Linked DNA regions of Homo sapiens: regions 1 and 3 are each linked to region 2. Evidence: promoter capture Hi-C in human tissues and cell types (Jung and others, 2019). All regions are on one chromosome and are shown on one strand. The core of a region is centred on a gene start or on the middle of the fragment in contact, and the rest is flanking DNA. Distances in the headings are between cores, read along the strand shown. Region 1 has its middle 42 kb from the start of WSCD2. Region 2 holds the start of WSCD2 (WSC domain containing 2). Region 3 overlaps WSCD2 (WSC domain containing 2).

The links. The method cuts DNA at HindIII sites, captures the fragments that hold promoters and counts their contacts. A contact is called where the count stands out against the background at its distance.
Region 1: a fragment that was not itself captured here is called in contact with the fragment with the promoter of WSCD2 in region 2 in 2 of the 25 tissues and cell types used here (pancreas and thymus).
Region 3: a contact is called between a fragment that was not itself captured here and the fragment with the promoter of WSCD2 in region 2, in 3 of the 25 tissues and cell types used here (dorsolateral prefrontal cortex, psoas muscle and spleen).

The regions. Positions count from the first base shown.
Region 1 is chr12:108,085,576-108,088,747 of GRCh38, forward strand. No RefSeq gene overlaps it. Among named protein-coding and RNA genes, the nearest start is that of WSCD2, 42 kb to the right of the region's middle. The HindIII fragment of the contact is 3,832 bases long and covers 1-3,172 here.
Region 2 is chr12:108,127,175-108,130,537 of GRCh38, forward strand. It overlaps WSCD2 (WSC domain containing 2), which reads left to right and starts at 2,114. Exons shown (of 9, transcript NM_014653.4): 1 at 2,114-2,752. RefSeq lists a silencer at 2,335-2,424. The HindIII fragment of the contact is 5,452 bases long and covers 1,471-3,363 here.
Region 3 is chr12:108,161,927-108,164,883 of GRCh38, forward strand. The region is part of intron 1 of WSCD2 (WSC domain containing 2); the gene reads left to right. Among named protein-coding and RNA genes, the nearest start is that of WSCD2, 34 kb to the left of the region's middle. The HindIII fragment of the contact is 8,834 bases long and covers 1-2,957 here.

The DNA.
Region 1 (3,172 bases), core at 134-2,633, 42 kb before region 2:
TCTTTAGAAATAAAAAATAAGGCCAGGCACAGTGGCTCACACCTGTAAACCCAGCACTTGGGAGGCCGAGGCAAGCGGATCACGAGGTCAGGAGATCGAGACCCATCTTGGCTAACACGGTGAAACCCCCTCTCTACTAAAAATACAAAAAAAATTAGCCGGGCGTGGTGGCAGGTGCCTGTAATCCCAGCTACTCAGGAGGCTGAGGCAGGAGAATGGCGTGAACCTGGGAGGCAGAGCTTGCAGTGAGCCGAGATCACGCCACTGCACTTCAGCCTGGGCAACAGACAGAGCAAGACTCTGTCTCAAAAAAAAAAAAAAAAAAGAAAGAAATAAAAAATAAAAATTGTAACTCATGATATTATCAGATTAATGGAAAAAAACATACAATTTTAAGAAAAGCATTGAACAAAACAATTTTCATCTGTAATATTTAGAAAAACTCTCAGAAAACTAGGAAGAGAATGTACTTTCCTCAATCTGAAAAGGGACATCAGTAAAATACCTTAGGTAATGCCATACTTAATAATTGAATATTCAATGTTCTCCCCTTACTAGCAAAACAAGGACAGGCTGGACCATTTCTATTTAACATTTTACTGGAGACCATAATCATCCAAGAAGGCAAAAAGAAAAGATATTAATAGCATGCTGATGGAAAGGAATGAGTTAAGTAAAATCTATTTGTAAATGATGTGATTATTTCCATGGATAGTATTTATAAAATCTACAAATAATCATAGGAAAAACAAATTGAATATATAATTCCATGTTAATATGCAAAATATACAAAAATCAATTGTATATACTTGCTACAAACTATTAGAAACAGAAATTAATTAATTCTATTTACACTGGTGTTAATGAGCGCAGAAAAGTTAGGAATGAACTTAACAAAAGACTTGCAATAATGTTAAAGTAAAAAAAAATCATAGTATTGTGGAAAGAGCTTAATAAAGAATTAAAGAAATGAAGTGGTGTGCCATATTTATAGATTGAAAAATCAAGGTGCTAATTTTCTGCAAGTTGATTTCTTAAAATTTTATTTTACTTTAGATTCAGGGGGTACGTGTGCATGTTTGTTACATGAGTATAAGGAAAAGAGGCAATTTGAAGACAACATTCTATTTCATGTTTTCTGTATGTTCATATACACAGAAGTATTTATATTTTATGTGACCAAACTATCCCCGTATAGTATATACAGTCTTTAGTTGCTTTTTACTCATGTAAAATATATTATGAATATTTTTTCATATTAAGTATTTATCAACACATTGTTTTTAATGACTGGCTGGTGTTTTTCTGCAGCCAAGAGGAACCTCCAAAGTTCTGTATGTTCCAGATAAATGCCCTGTCCTCTGCTTTAGTCAGCACTGGCAGGGGTGAGGAGTATGCCTCAGGAGATCTGTATGCTCCTCATAAAACTCTCACCCCTTCCTCCTTCTCTGTCTCATCAAATGCTCACAGCCTCACTGCAACTGTCTGCCAGGAGATGCTCGGAAATAATTTTGTCCTTTATACTTTTCACATTAGCCACCACAAGTAGCTCAGGACACCTGGAGTTTCTCTAATCCCCAAAGGACTCCATGGGCAGTGAGGTAAATCACCCTGCCAACCACAGAGGCATTGCCTAATGACCTTCCCTGACTTATTTTCTTCCTACTCCTACCATCATCAGAATATGTATGTGTGTGTGTGCATATATACATGCATGTATGTATGCATATATGTGTGTCTGTCTTTAATTACTAGGATACAAGCTTTATGAGGTATATTGGATTTTTGAAGGCAGGAATTTTTGTCTTTTCTTGTTAGGTTATAATCTCCAGTGCCTAAAATAGTGAATAGCACATGGTAGGCACACACTAAATATTTATTGAATTGATGGATGATTTCATGATAATAAAAAATACTGCCATAAACATCCTCATAGCAAATCATTGTACTCATTCAGAATGATTTACTTTTGATAAACTTTTAGATGTGGAATTTGCTGGATTGGAAATAAAAAATAGGCACCCCTTTTCCTTTTTTAAAAAAAGACATTTAGGCTATGAATGAGCAAACTGCAACATGTAGCATAACAGAGGCCTATTTCTTCATAATCTCAGTGATACTATTTAATAAATATTAGCACTTGAAAACATCATCACCCATTCTGGGAAAGACAAAACTCAAGAGAGAGTAAAATGAGCAGTTGATGCTAGGGATTTAGAGAGAGGGTATAGGGATGAGTAGGTGGAGCAAATGGATTTTTAAGAAAGTAATGAAATTCTGTATCATACTGTAATTGTGAATGCAAGACATTAAGTATTTATCAAAACCCATAGAACTTTCAAGCACAAAGAGTGAAGCTTAATGAATGCAATTTAAAAAAATTATTTAAGGAGCTGGGATCCCAGGAGGGAAAGCAGACTATGACAAAGAATCTAACTGTATGACAAATGCCTGAAGCAACCACATTGAAGGGAGTGTGACGGGAGGTGCTGGCATAACTTTGGAAATAAATGGAGTCTGCAAGACAAAAGGCAGAAGGAACTGTACATAAGGACTGTACTCTAGTTGATAAAGTTGTTTCCCACAGGAATACAGGTTAACAATTCTGACACTGCTATACATGTATACTAGAGTTGAAGAATTAAGTAAATGGATATAAGTTGGTGAAAGTCATGTTTCTCACTGTTGGAGTGGGAGTTTACAGATAAGCCAGGGCAGGAAGCTAGATGATCCATATGGCGATGAATCAGAGCTGGGGACATCAGTATGAACTCAATGTTTAGCTTAATATGGATACAGATGGTTACATACAGAAATATTTATAGATATGTGTATTTACACAGGTTAGTGAGTGTATTCACAGATCATAAGAAAATATGTCAGCTGAGAGGGCCTAGAAGCAAAGACACCCCTGTAGCAAGAAGAACACCTAATGCCCAGATCTTGGTTACTAATACCATTCTCTAATAAAAGGAACCAGAGGTACTTGGAGAAATAGCTGTTTCAATGACTGGGGCAGTAAAAGCACAAGATGAGCCTGGAGCTTTTTATAGTGTCAGATTGCAAGGATGTGCTAAAACAAATGAGTGTATATCAAAGAAGCTCGGAAGCCAAGTGAAAGAGCTTCCAATGGCCAAAGCTGGAAAAATTGGAACAAGATAAATAAATAAAG
Region 2 (3,363 bases), core at 864-3,363:
TCTTTCCACAATAGAGCAATACCATCTAAGGGAAGTTACTTACCGCCTGACACAGCCCACTCACTACTCGCACATTCTCTCCACTTGCTCCAGCTACTGAGGAAATTAGAGCAAATCCTATTTTTAGACACTGTGGTTCAAATGACAGTGATGTATGGGGTAGTGACTCGTTTTATGAACATAGTTCGGAGGTGTCGGCGGATCTTACTGCTCGGAAACTCTCTTACATCACCCTGTTTTGCTCTTTATAATTTATTTCAAAGATCGCTTTGTTTCTTCTCCCTCCTCCGTGAGTCCTGCAACAGACTTCAGCCAGAAACAATAAAATTCTGAGCTGAAATAAAAGGCAATGAGAGAGGATGAGGCTTCTCTCAGAAACCTGAAACACAAATCATGTCAGGGATACATAGGGGTGGAGCACAAGCCCTTAGCAAAAATTAGAGTGTGCTCAATGGTTAGGACTAGAAAAAACAGACTTCATCCCTTCTTAGCAAAATTGATTGTGTGTGTGTTTTAGATGAAAATCCTAACTTTACTGCTTATTTTTTTATGGCTAATTATAATCTGCTAGTTTTGAAGGCCAGCAAGAGGGCTAAACAATGCTTGTGCAGAGCCCTGGCAACCTCAAGACAGGTAGGGATAAAGAGGAAGAACCGAAGAGGAGGGAGGGAGATGATTGACAGGAAGTGTACGGAACAAATGTGGAGGGCTTAACATGTGCTGCTGGGAACACCCACCCACTTTAATCAGTTTCATTCTCTTGTCAACATTAGAAGAAATCTTTAGTCCTATTTTACCGATTGGGCAACCAAGGCCAGAGAGGCTAAGTCATTTACTTTAGGACATACAGCTGGTAATTATGGAGTTAGGATTGCAAGATGCAGCAAAATAAAATAAAGGACATCCAATTATATTTGGGTTCTGAGTAAACAATGTAAAAAAAATAGTGAAAGTATATCCCATGTAAAATTTCAGACTTATACTAAAAATTTAACTGGGCATCCTGTATTTTACCTGGCAACTGTTGAGGAGATTCAAATTCAGTTCTCTTTGTTATTTCCCAGACACCCCTTACTATGGGACATATATAATACTGTAGAATATGTGATCAGTACCAGCAGATACTGGTTGAGTTCAGGCCTCAAGCTTTATATCTGCCATTTTGCTTGAAACCCTTTAATCCTTATATCACCTATCCAGTAGGTATTATCATTGTTCCCATTTTATGGATGAGGAAACTGAGGCTCCTTAAGATGAAATAACTTGGTCACGGTGACACAACCAGAAAGTACTAGAGCCCATGCTTGAACCCAGTTCTGTTTTGCTCAAGAATGGTCTCTCAAAAAAAAAAAAAAAAAAGAAACACAAAAAAACAAAAAACAGTTAAGATTTAACCCATGTACAGAAAAGCACTTGATATGTAAATGTACAGTACAACGACTTGTCACAAACACCTGTGCAGCCACCAGCCAGATCAAGAAAGAAAAGATGTCCAGCTCCCGTTAGATGCCCTGCCCCGTCATGAGAAGGGCTCTTCTGCCAGAGCTTCTCTGGGAATTCTTTGACTACGGGCATTACTGTCCCCATTTTACAGATGGGGACACAAAGGTTCAGAGAGGTGCTGTGACTTGCCCAAGGTCACAGAGATTGGAAAGCAACAGGCTCAGAGAGGGCGAGTGATCACCCAGAGGTTACACAGCTAAAACTTACCACCTGTTAAAACTACAAACTAAATACCAAAAACCGAAACTGCGCTTTATTGGGTGTTTACTATTTGTGAGGCACCGTGCTAAGCTTCTTGGTCGACAACAGTAGCAGCAGCAGCAAGCACTCTGCCATTTGGGGTGCATACTCCCCATGTCAGGCAGCTTGGCACTTTGCGTAATCCGCTCAGTGAATTTTTCCAGCGACCCTATGGTTTGGGCTTGGGTCTCGAACCCATTTTACAGAAGAGGACACTGAGGCCGGAAGGCTGAGGCCCCTGCCCGATATGCTCAGCCGGCCTGGCACCGGCTATGCCCGGCTCCCCGGGAGGCTGCGGGAGGGCCAGGTGGCATGCAAGGAGTTAAGCGGTAGGCAGTGCTGTGGCTCCGTGCGAGGAGCGCGCCGGGCTGAGGCGCGCTGCTGGTGGCGGCGGCGGCAGCGGCGCGGGAGCTAGGGCTGGAGACGTGAAGTCCAGGGGAGCGAGCAAGGCAGCCAAGGAGGCAGCGGCGAGGCAGCGAGAGAGAGCCAGGCGGCCGGAGCTCCGCGCCGAGCCGCAGCCGGTGCCCTGCGCGCACCGGGCCCGGGCATCTCCATCCCCGGGGCGGGTGCCCGCGCGGGGCCTCGCCGCGGCTCGGGGCACCCGCAGTGCCGCCCGCCCGAGCGCCAGGCTCACAGGAGCCCGGCTTTCACTTCCTCTCGCTTCCGCCCGCCTCCCTGGCTCGCCGGCTGGCGTCGCCACCGCCTCCTCGTCCCCGGCCACCGCTGTCGCCGCTGCTGCAATTCAAGGCGCACACTATCCCACTTTCCCGCTGGAGGCGCAGAGGATGCCCCTTGAGCCAGACCTGGAGAAATAGCCCCAGGGCCCGGCAGGAGGAGCCTTGGTGGCGAGAAAGGAAATCCAGGCTCCCCTTTCCTTAAAGCCACTGCAGCAGCTGGGAAGGCGCCCACAGAGCGGGCGCGCCAAGCGGGACGCGGGAGTCGCAGAGAGGGACCCCGGGCGCCTGCTGAGCTCAGCTGGCAGAGTTTGCAAGTGGCGGAGACCCTTCAGGTAAGGACTCAGGTGCCTGGACCTGGGAAGAGGGCTCCAGGAGGGAGCCGGGCGCGGAGCTGGTGCGAAATGTCTTCTGCCCCTAGATCTGGGCTTCGCTTTCCAGACGCTTCCCCGCAGGTTGGGGGCTCGTCGTCCAGAGCCCGGCGAGTGAGGAACCCAGAGTGGTGACAGCCCAGCTCTGCGTAGATGACAAACTTTCTCTCCTCTGGCAGAGGGTGGGACATTCCGGCTCATCCAGGCATCCTTCCTCTGGGCATTCCTGTGCCCCCTACAGGCATGCATTCAAGGGCTTCTCCCGCGGAGGTGGGCCAGCGGGGAGGCAGTGGGCCCCGTAAATTTGATTTATGAATCACCCTCTTTCTGGCCAGTGCAGAGTTCCAAGGGAGAGGGAGCTAGTCATATTTCCAAGTTGGCTGTAGAAGATGTTTCTTGGGGGTGATACTCTGGTGAATAAGGCTGCCTGTCATCTGATGCCAACAGCCAGAGCTGCCCAGGCAATGGGCTTTGTGTAGGGTGCCTTGCAGATTTGCTTATGTCCATTCTGGGGTGTGTGTGTGTGTGTGTGTGTGTGTGTGTGTGTGTGTGTGTGTGTAAAGAGAGAGAGGGAA
Region 3 (2,957 bases), core at 444-2,943, 34 kb after region 2:
TCACATGCAGATTTTACCGTGGCTTCACTGTGCACTGTCATCTCAAGCCCTCACCATGGCCCATGCATCACCATCCTCCCCACTTTACAGATGGGGACACTGAGGCTCACAGAGGGAAGAAGTCGCTTGCCCAACATTGCACAGAAGCCAAGTGGCAGAGATGGGGTAAAATGGTAGCCAGTCCATGCTAAGGCCTGCCCTTGGCCACAGAATACTGGTGAGGGTGGAAAGGAAGGACGGCAGAGGGACTGTGACCTCAGATTCTCTTCCAAGCCTGAAGACAACGTTGGCCACGTTGTTCTCATTTCCTCCTTTGGGCTTCTTCAGCATCTTCCTTGCAGGCTCACATCTCTCCGGAAGCTCTTGGAATCCTGCCTGTTCATAGGGAGGAGTCACCAAGCCCCCTTCAGACTCACGGGTGGAATAATCAAACACATATGCCTTGGAAAATGGGCTGGGGGATCCCCAGCCCCCCAACCCATTTCACACTCAGATGCAAGCAACACCCTCAGTCCCCAGGGCTCCCAGAGCTTTCTCATTCCATTTGTATCAATGTGCCCCACACATGTATGAGCCAAGTTCTACTTCTGGGGGAAAGAAAAAAATCTATTTCTTTCTGCATCTTGGCATCTATTTTTCCCAAAGTGCCAAGGAAATTCCATCTCTGATAAATGACAGGCAGCCACCAGAAAAGCTTGGATGTTTATTCCCTCCTGGGGAGAGGAACAGGGCTCAGACCCTCTTCTGAGCATCCTGGAGAATGCATTTCCTCCATTTTCTGGAGGGGCTGGGAGTAAGGCCTTCTCTTTTCTCTCTCCAAATGACCTCTGCTCAGACCTGGAGGCCCTTCCAGAACAGTTTCTGATGGATTCTGGAGTCTGACAGACCTGGTTAGCAAAGTACCCTGGACTTGGTAAATGGCTGTTTCCATCAATATCATTCATTCATAAGATATCACTACATGCACAGGCTGTGTGTTGAGCCTGCATCTTGTGCCAGCCTCTGTGTTAACTGCCTTAAACATCACTTCACTTACTCCTCACAAAAACCTGGAGGAAGTGGAGTGATGCCTCATTGTATAGGCAGGAAAACTGGGGCTTCAAGAGAGGCTGAATCGTATTCCTATGGACATGAAGCTAATAAGTGGTAGGTCATCAGCTAAGTGATACCACTAATAAGTAGTATTTGAATCCAGATGGGTCTGATCTGATTCCAAGTCTGAGCTCGTAAAAAGTCTATACCATCCTCCTGGCTAGCATGGTGAAATCCCGTCTCTACTAAAAATACAAAAAATTAGCTGGGCGTGGTGGCGGGCACCTGTAGTCCCAGCTTCTTGGGAGGCTGAGGCTGGAGAATGGCATGAACCTGGGAGGCGGAGCTTGCAGTGAGCAGAGATTGCACCACTGCACTCCAGCCTGGGTGACAGAGCAAGACTTTGTCTCAAAAAAAATAAAAATTAAAATTAAAAAAGAAAGAAAAAGTCTATACCATTCTTCTTTCTAAGTGTGGTGGGTTGAATAATCATCCTCTGCCCCACCAAACCTGTCCACGTTCAAATCCCTGGAACCTGCAAATATGGTACCTTAAGCATGGTAAGAGGTACTTGGCAGACGTAAATGAGTTAAGAATCTTGAGATGGGATATTATCCTGGATTCTCCAAGTGGTCCCACTGTCATCGCAAGGATCTTCATAAGAGGGAGGCAGGGAAGATCCGAGTCAGTAGCAGGAGATGCGATGATAGAAGACGTTGGAGTGATGGAATGCAGGCAGGAAGGGGAGGGGCCAGGAGCCAAGGCATGCAGGCAGCTTCTAGAAGCTGAAAAAGCAAGGAAGCAGATTCTCCCTGAAGCCTCCAGCAGGAACCAGCCCTGCAGACATCTTGATTTTACACTTCTGATTTTCAGAACTGAATAGAATGAACTTATGTTTTTTTAAGCTAGTAAGTTTGTGGTCATATGTTACTGCAGCCACAGGAAACTAATATACTAAGCATGGATAAAAAAAATTAAGGAAAGATACTAAAAGAATAAGTGAATGCCTGGAAAGGTAGTGAATAAATGAGTGAAACATAGTGGCATCAGTGATGGCTTGCCTTTGACATCCCAGTGGGTCACTGTCTTCTCTACAGCCCAGGACCCATGACAGAGTGGTTGGCATTACCACTAGACCTGTAGCCCTTCACTTATTTATACTGTTGTTTAATCTTAAATCCTTTTTTTTTTTTTTTTTTTTTTTCAGAGAGGGGGATGTTTGAAAACGTCCTACAATGGTATACCTTACATACTGTAAAGTACAAAATCAATAAATTTTTACAAACTTATAGAGCCATGGAACCATTGCCAAGGTCAAGATACAGACCATTCTTATCACTCCAGAGAGGTTTCTTTGCATTTCTTCCTAATTGATACCCCTGTCACCAGAGATTAATTTGCCTGTCCTTGAACTTCATATGAATGGGATCTTGTACTGTCTTTTCTTTTGTGCCTGGCTTCCTTTGCTTGATGTTATTTTTATAAATCCGTGAGATTTATTCACGATGTCACATATATCAGCGGTTTCTTTCTTGTTCATTCAATTTTTAATCCTTTCTCCTTTTGAAGGACACATGGCTGATTTTCTGCAGTTTGGGACCCTAATGAACAGAGGTGCTAGGGACATTCTTGTACAAATCTTGTGGGAGATTTAAGCACTCATTTCTTGTAGGTGTATACCCAGGAGTGGAATTGCAGGGTCCTAGGTATGTGAATGTTTCGCTTCAGTGGACAACACCAGTCTCCAGCCTGAATCTAACTTGAGGAATGCCTTCCTTGCCCGCAACAGCTTTCTCTCCAACAGATCTACCCACATCTCCACATTGTGTGGGTCACAATGCTTAGGAGACAAGGAGGCCCAATAACTCCTCACATCCCAGTCCAGGAAAGCCTCATCTGACCTGATGGGTTTCAGAGATGTGATG